Linked DNA regions of Homo sapiens: region 1 is linked to region 2. The links are contacts of gene promoters, found by promoter capture Hi-C in blood cells and fetal thymus (Javierre and others, 2016). All regions are on one chromosome and are shown on one strand. Each heading gives the region's core, a stretch centred on a gene start or on the middle of the fragment in contact. The rest is flanking DNA. Distances are from core to core; before and after follow the strand shown.

Region 1 (2,752 bases), core at 1-2,500, 980 kb before region 2:
TGGTTTGGGGTAGGCCTTTCCAGTCTTTTTTGTCTATGCATATATAGACACATAAATACATACGTATGTGGATGTATGTTTACCTTTAAAAATAGGATCTTACTATGCATATTGTTTTGAAACCTGAATTTTTTTTTTTTTTTTGAGACAGGTTCTCACTGTCATGCAAGCTAGAGTGAGGTGGCATGATCATGGTTCACTGCAGCCTCAACTTCCTGGGCTCAAGTGATACTCCCACCTCAGCCTTCTGAGTAACTGGGACTACAGGCATGTGCCACCACGCCCGGCTAACTTTTATATTTTTTGTAGAGATGAAGTTTCACCATTTTGCCCAGGTTGGTCTCAGACTTCTGAGCTCAAGTGATCCACCCGTCTTGGCCTCCCAAAGGGCTGGGATTATAGGCCTGAACCACCTCACCCAGCCTGAAACCTGAATTTTTTTTTTTACCAAATAATATATTGTGGATATCTTTTAATATAACTCCATATTTTTCTTATTTTTCTTTTCTGGCTGTGTAGTCTGTTTAATCCCTTAATAGAGGGCATTTAGATTGTTTTCAATGCTTTCAGTCTATACACAACTCTCTAATTACCATCCTTTCATGTATATATGTCTTTGTGCACTTATCTGGTCTCTTCCTTAGAATACATGCCTAAAAGCGAAATTGCTGAGTCTACTTTAAAGATGCATCACCAACATGCTTTCTAGAAAGGATTTTTTTTTTCTTTGCTCTAAGTTCTAGAAAGGATTTTTAGCTCTTAATCAGTTTTAATTATATCAACAGTATATGAGAATACCCGTTTCTCAATTTCATAACTACAATTGATATTTATAGTTTTTAATTTCTAACAAACTGGTAGGTTAAACAAAATTCTCATCTTTGTTATAAATTGTACTTCAAAAAAACTGGTAAGATTGAGTAGTTTGTGAATTACTTGTTTATAAACTTTGCCAGTATTTCCATTGCAGTATAATTTTGAATCTAATATGCTATGGCTTTATGGTCAGATTATTTACTAAGTTTGTGTTTCTTTTTTTTTTCTAAACTTTTATATTTTAATTTCTAGTTTTAGAAGATATAGGACTGTACCTGACAAACCTTAATGATAGCTTATCCAGCACTCTGCATGATGCCGTTGAAATGGTAAGTAACGATTGACTCCAACACTGAATTCTGACAGGAAGAATATCTGTATGAATTGGTTGCCACTGATCAGGTTTTTTCTCAATTTTTTGAGTTATAGACACAAAATTTAGTAAAATAACCATGAAATAATTTAGAGTTTCTTGCACATTTCATTATGTAATCTTATAATTATGAGAATGAAAAAAAGTTATTATTAACCCTCGTGGCTCTAGTAGTAAAAAAATATACATTTAATGTAATTAGGTAATGAAATCTAGCTGATTGCAAATTGTTACCTCTGTATGTTGTCTTTACAATATTTAAGCAGGATCTTACCTGTTTAAACCAACTCTCTTGTAATACATTTGTTATTTTTCCCTAACCATGATTATAATTCTTTGTGCTAATAAATATTTAAACTTAATGGCTTAAAAAGAAAAATGAGGTCCAGGGATGTTAACCCTTTCTAGTTTTTATCTAGCTCTGTAGAAGCAAAAGTTGGTATTTAAAAATATCACATTATATATAAATATATAGAAGTGATAGTAAGAATTTTCTTTTGAAAAAACCGTTAAGGAATAGAAATCTTTACTTTTTATATATTTTTAAACAACCTAAGCAAGGAAAGGTAATTGTACTCAACTATCATCTATGTTTATTCACATCTTTTTAAAGCATTGTTGCTGTTTTTTTAAGTTATTTCACATAGGCCTATGAAAATACTTCATTAAGAAGTTTTTTGATAAGATTTTAATGAAACAATTTTTAAACAGTAATTATTTATTGCAAGTAATTGGTTGAGCTAATTGTGAAGAGAGCATAGCAATCACTTTTATGAAATAATATGGGAAGAAGGCATAAATGAGATATCTTTATTTTCAGAGAAGCATTACTAACATTCGGCCTATTAGTGTACAATTATAGCATTTTTCTCCTCTCTTTGAACTTTTTCAAGTGGCAAAGCATGTTTAAATTTATTTAAAGTAAATAGCTAAACCAAACCAAGACTAAATTATAACTTGTTTCTCTTTTTCTACATTTGAAACTAAATTCTAATGTTGATATTTTTACTATGCCTAAATCACATATGCTACAAATTCATAATAAAGTCAAATACAATAGTACAATCTGGAAAAACCCCAAATAACTTGAAATCATGTACCAGTGGGCATTTTATCTATACATAGCTAGGGGATAGGGACTTATAATCTGGAGTTAATAAACTTTATTTCATGAAAAATAAATACAAATACTTTCAATGAATTTAAAGTCATGTTAATATCTGTATTTACAAGATAATCTACTTTGTTGGACTCTGAGGCCCACACTGTTCCTCATTGTTGGGATGGGCCTATTTTGAGGCATGAGGAAGCCTATACAGGGTGCTCCAGTGAGGGTCTTCAATACCAATGCCCTCGCCAAGTAAGCCAGATGTCAGCCCAAAGGCAAAGGGACATTGAGGTCTATAGCTGCCATACCATACTTCTGCAGTTTTTCATTTTTGCTTGTGGTCCAAGTTGCAGCATTACAGTGCTTTGCCCCCATTGCCACACTGTGGCATTACTTTACTGCAGAAATATGAGGAGGAGGCTGTGACCCAAAAACAATGATATCATATAAAACAT
Region 2 (5,120 bases), core at 2,296-4,795:
AATACACAATTTTTTGCCTTTAACAGGCAAATACCGCAGACACCTGTTTTTGTTAGTCCAGCTGCATGAAGTCTGTATATGCTTTATAAAATAAGGGCTAGAGGGGAGGGATTATCTCATCTACTTTGTACTACATTGAGTGTAGCAAAATATATACAATTTACAAACTTCTGATTTGTGATGATACCCTGAGAAGCAGAAAAAATTAAAACATCTTTAGCTCTGACATGACTCATATATTTCCACCTTTGATTACAAAATAATGACATGTACCCACCTGTCAAACAAAGAAATACTTAAAAACATATTTAAATACTTTACAGGAAGAAAATGCTGGCTATTTCACATTGAAATCTTCATACGACAGCTAATGTCTTTTCATATCTACTGTAAATAACTTGTTCAATTAAGGCTATGAAATACTGAAGAAAAGGGGCAGGATGGAGGAAAAGAAAGGGAAAAATAATATTTAAAAAAATTCTGAGTAAATGATTCTGTGTATAGTCGTATTTAACATTAGAAAGTTCACATACGCTTTTGAATTATTGTAAAACCATCTTTTCTGCTAAGATAGAAATTTAAAAAGCATCTTTGATTTGCATATTTCTAAAGATATTTTCAGTTTGCTTGAAGTTCTTCTCCAACTTTATGCCTGTGTTTTAATACCGTTACATATAGTCCCACACCTATTCTCCCTTTAATAAATACATTATCTTCGACAAGTCATAGCTATAAAGCAACCATCAGCTATTTTAAAAAATACAAAATATACCAAATTTCTAAATGTAGGAGGGTATGATCTATTTGGAAAAGTCTACGCTAATTCCAAGAGGCTGCTTCTCAAAATAGTTTTAGAATTTCTCTTTGGAATCGTTTTCAGTTAGCTAAAAGCCACGTAGGAAACCCAACCTTGTTGTTTTATAGAGGTCTCATTTTAAAAAATAATAAAAATTTAAATAAAGTGGCATCACTCACCTTATTCAATCAACTTGACTTCAAATTACATTTTTGGCTATATCCAAAAATCAAATTTACCTCAAAAGACAAAAATTTTCTACAATGAAAATATTTTTTTAAATGTGAAAGCATTCTGAGAGCAGCATTCCAAAATTTATCAGAAATAAAAGTAACAGGTTAGAGTAAGGATAAAACTTCAAAGTTTTCCAAGGAAGATCATTTTGGAGGTATGACGCGGGTGGAAGGAATGTTAATTTTTACATATAATCTTGGAAAACATTTAAAAGACACATTTCTTTATGTTCATACTTCTATTTGTCCTTCAGATGGTTGAATTTTATCTAATAATAACCAGCTTTTCAAAATCCTAAAATGATTTTAAATGGGTTATGAATTAAAAATTTTCCACAAAGGTTATTAGGGGGTGGGGTGAGGAGGTGCACCAATGTGTGTAAGGATAAGACTTTTCCACTTGCAATCTAAGCACCCAAAGCATGTCAGAGGTGCAAGCTCTAGAAGCTAAAGTTTTGTTGGATGGTAGCGATTTAGAGGGGCTTTCAAGCAGCTCTGAAGGTCTCCATTCATTCCTGAAATTCTGTGTAGTTGAACAATACTGGTTGCATTCAATGTTTTGTTTGTTTCACAGTGTGGTCCTATAATATGAGCTTTTCAGTTATAGTGAATGTTATTTTTGTCATTTTTGGCACTTACAGTTCACAATGCTTGGTTATGTGGTTTAAGATTGTTTTAATTTTTGCATTTTACATTCCTTTTGGCACTTTTGAAGAAGGGACATTGTCTTTTATGTTGTTTGGGGAAAGTGGTAAGCCTCCCCCGTCTCTAGCTTTAAATGTTTGGCTTTATGAAATCCACAACTCTCCCCCAGAATCTTCCATCATTAAATAATGCGAGTGGAAATTTGCCTTCATAAGCTGGCCATTCCAACCGTCTTAGAGGCTGGTATCCCCAGCTTCGGATTTAGGCTGTTTGGTCACTGCCGTCACCGGCTCTGGTGGTCCCTCTCGGCAGAAAAGTACAACTGGATTTTTGCGGGCCCACATGGCCACGTCCCCTGCCACTCCGCTGGCCGGGTTGGAAGAGGACATCCTGTTGCAGGCCCCCAGCCGGTTGGCATAGCGGTTTCGAAGGCGACTGCGGCTTCTGGCTTGCAGACCCGGGCCCTGGCTGGGCAGGAAAGCGTCCACATTCCTAGTCCGGTAGCCCTCCTCGCGGTTGCGCCCTAGGAGCATCGAAATGTTGGGATTGCGGATGGCGTAGATGACAGGGTTGATGGCCCCATTGGCCCAGGTCAGCCAGACGGCCACCACGCTGAGGAGCGAGGGGGCCTGCATGGTCTGGGCCTGCCGGGCGGCGGCCAGCAGCACCAGGAAGCAGTAGGGCCCCCAGCAGCAGATGACGAAGACGATCATGATGAGGACGGTGGTGGCCGTGCGCACCTCGCTGAAGAAGCGCAGCACGCGCGCGTAGGTGTTCACCGGCCGCACGCGCACGTCCGACAGGCGCACCGTCTTGCAGATGTGGTAGTGGCAGAAGCACATGAGCAGGAAGGGCAGCAGGTAGCAGGCCACCACCAGCCCCACGCTGAAGGCCGCGCCCAGCTGCGCGGGGTCCGGGGAGGTCCGGTAGAGGCAGCCGTGGAAGCTCTGCGCCGCCGCGAGTTCCCGGGGCGCCCCGAGCAGCTCCCAGGGCAAGGAGAAGCCCAGGGCCGTCAGCCAGGCGCCCGCCAGCAGCTGCAGCGCGCGGCGGCGGCCGATCTTCTCCCGCGGCGGCCGCACGATAGCGCAGTAACGGTCCAACGAGATGAGCGCCACGCTGAGCGTGGACACGATGCCGAAGCACGAGCTGAAGAAGCGGCTGGCGGCGCAGAAGCCGCGCCAGGGCCCCGCGGCGGCGGCAGGCGCCGAACCCCCGGGCGGAGTGAAGAGGTCCAGGAAGGCGGCGGGCAGGCAGAGCAGCGCCGTGAGCAGATCCGATAGGGACAGCGACAGGATGAAGGCGTTGGTGACGGTGCGGAGCTGCCGGTGCTTCACAATCACCCCCATCACCGCGCAGTTGCCAAGGCTAGACAGCAGGAAGATGAGCAGGAGGACGAGCGCCTGGGCCGCCACTGCAGCTCCGTGCGACAGCAGCGGCGCCGCCTCCGGGCCTAGCGGCCGCCTCACCGCCGCCCCCGCCTCCCGCGCTGCCCCGGACCCGCCAAGGCCGCCGCCACCGGGAGCGGCAGCTGTGCCGCCTCCGCTTGCGTCGCTCAGGTTCCCCAGCGCCGCGGTCGCCACGGTGCTGAAGGAGAGCACGGCCGCCGTGGCCGCGGAGGAAGTCCCGCCAGGTGGGCCGGCCGCGGAGGGGGCGCCGGAGTGCTGGCTGCCCAGTAAGGCCATGCTCGCTGGTGGGCGGGGCGGCTGCGGCTCCTCCATGGGGCCCAGTGGCGGCCGCGGATCTCCTCATCCCGCACCGGGGGCGGCGGCCGCTAGGTCGGAGTGGTGGCTCGGGGCCGGGGGCTAGCGGCCGCCGCGGGGAGCTGGGCTCGGCCGGAGGGGTGGCGGTCGCTGGGGACCTGGCGGAGCCTTTGACGTGGGTTCCAGCGTTGCCGAGGGAACCGCGTGTTTACGCAGGAGCGCGGGGCGGGACGGCAGCCCAGTACCCGCTGCAAAGCCGACCCGCGACACCGCCACTCCGGAGGTTACCGGCCCGGGTGTTCGGGTTTCCGAGAGTGCCAGGTCGACCTCCTGAGGGACCAATGTCCGGCCAGATAAAGTGCCGACTGGCATGCAAACAAATGACCAGATTCAACGAAAGTTCACTCTTGCTCTCTTTTGTAGGGTACAAATGTTCTACAGGCAGGCCTTTTGGGGAGTGGTGGGGGGGGCACTCTGCTTCCTGTGGGTGCTTTTGGTATATACAGGTAGGAAAGGAATCTAGAAAGTGAAGTGAAAGAAAAATCCAGAAGTCTACATCCAGACATCTTAAACTTGAGAAGCAGACTAATTTAAACCAGTAATTCTCAAACTTGAGCTAACAGAATTCACATAGAGGGCGTGTTAAAATACAAGTGACGAGGTCTGAACCCCAGCGTTTCGAATATGTCTGGGGAAGTACCCAAGAATTTGTATCTCTAACGGGTTCGCGGGTGGTGATGATGATGCTGGTCCCAGGACCACACTTACAGAAGCACTGATGTCAAGAGTTTCATAAAATGCAGATTCCCAGGCTGACAGAATTACTAAGGATGGGCCCATGACTCTAAACCCCGTAGGTGATTCTGATACAGGTGCTCTGAGGAGCTAGGATAGTTCCTTTAGATGTTACTTCATTTCCAAGGGCCTGGACCTCAGGCCCCTACTGGCTGATAAATGGGGGGAGAGGGATTGGTGCCTTGCCCTGCTAGCAGCCTTCATCTGTTCTCAGGAATGGGGTATGTTTTGAGTCTAAGGTGCTGCCAGCCTGGCAATCACCACAGATGCAGCTCCAGGTACCTGGCTGGGAGATACGGGGAAAAGAAAGGCAGGGCTACCCAGGGAAGTTGCATCTCAAGTTTCTGGGCATGGCCTCTAATGGGGAAAAGTGTGATAAACCCTCAGGTTAACTAACCCTGGGCTCTTCGCTAAAGCAGTGGTTCACAGAGTATGGACATTGGACCAGCAGCATCAACATCCCCTGGAAACCTTGAGAAATACAAATTATCAGGCCTACAGTGCATAGGATACCCCTGATCTACTGAAACTCCTGTGGTGGGGCCCAGGCACCTATGTTTTAACAAGCCCTCCCAGTGATTCTGATGCACAAATTTGAGAAACACTGCTCTAAAGAATGACTAGTATATTTGTAGATCTTAGAATCAATGGTATTAGTATTGGAGTGCTTATTTCATTCAGAAAAAATATCCTACAGGAAATTTACAGTATAAATAGAAGAACGTTTAAGGTGGCAAACCAAAACTGGGTTTGTCAGCCTAAGCGTCATGGACTTTTGGGCCAGATAATTCTTTATTGCAGGGGCCATCTATACATTGTATGATGTTCAGCAGCATCCCTAGTTCCTACCTACGAGATGCCAGTAGCACCTCTCCCAGCTGTGACAACTAAAACTGTCTTCAGATATTGCCAAATATCCTCTTGGGAGCAGTCAATGCCAGCTTAATCTAG

Evidence for each region. The method cuts DNA at HindIII sites, captures the fragments that hold promoters and counts their contacts. A CHiCAGO score of 5 or more calls a contact.
Region 1: a fragment that was not itself captured here is called in contact with the fragment with the promoter of GPR135 in region 2 in 1 of 17 cell types (M0 macrophages); the score reaches 5.4 in M0 macrophages.

The regions. Positions count from the first base shown.
Region 1 is chr14:58,489,096-58,491,847 of GRCh38, forward strand. It overlaps KIAA0586, which reads left to right. Exons shown (of 31, transcript NM_001329943.3): 25 at 1,069-1,145. Among named protein-coding and RNA genes, the nearest start is that of KIAA0586, 63 kb to the left of the region's middle. The HindIII fragment of the contact is 4,297 bases long and covers 1-2,752 here.
Region 2 is chr14:59,461,835-59,466,954 of GRCh38, forward strand. GPR135 (G protein-coupled receptor 135) reads right to left here and starts at 3,546. Exons shown (of 1, transcript NM_022571.6): 1 at 1-3,546. The coding sequence starts at 3,392. The coding sequence ends at 1,908. It also overlaps a transcript of L3HYPDH not described here. RefSeq lists a silencer at 3,077-3,616. The HindIII fragment of the contact is 8,985 bases long and covers 1-5,120 here.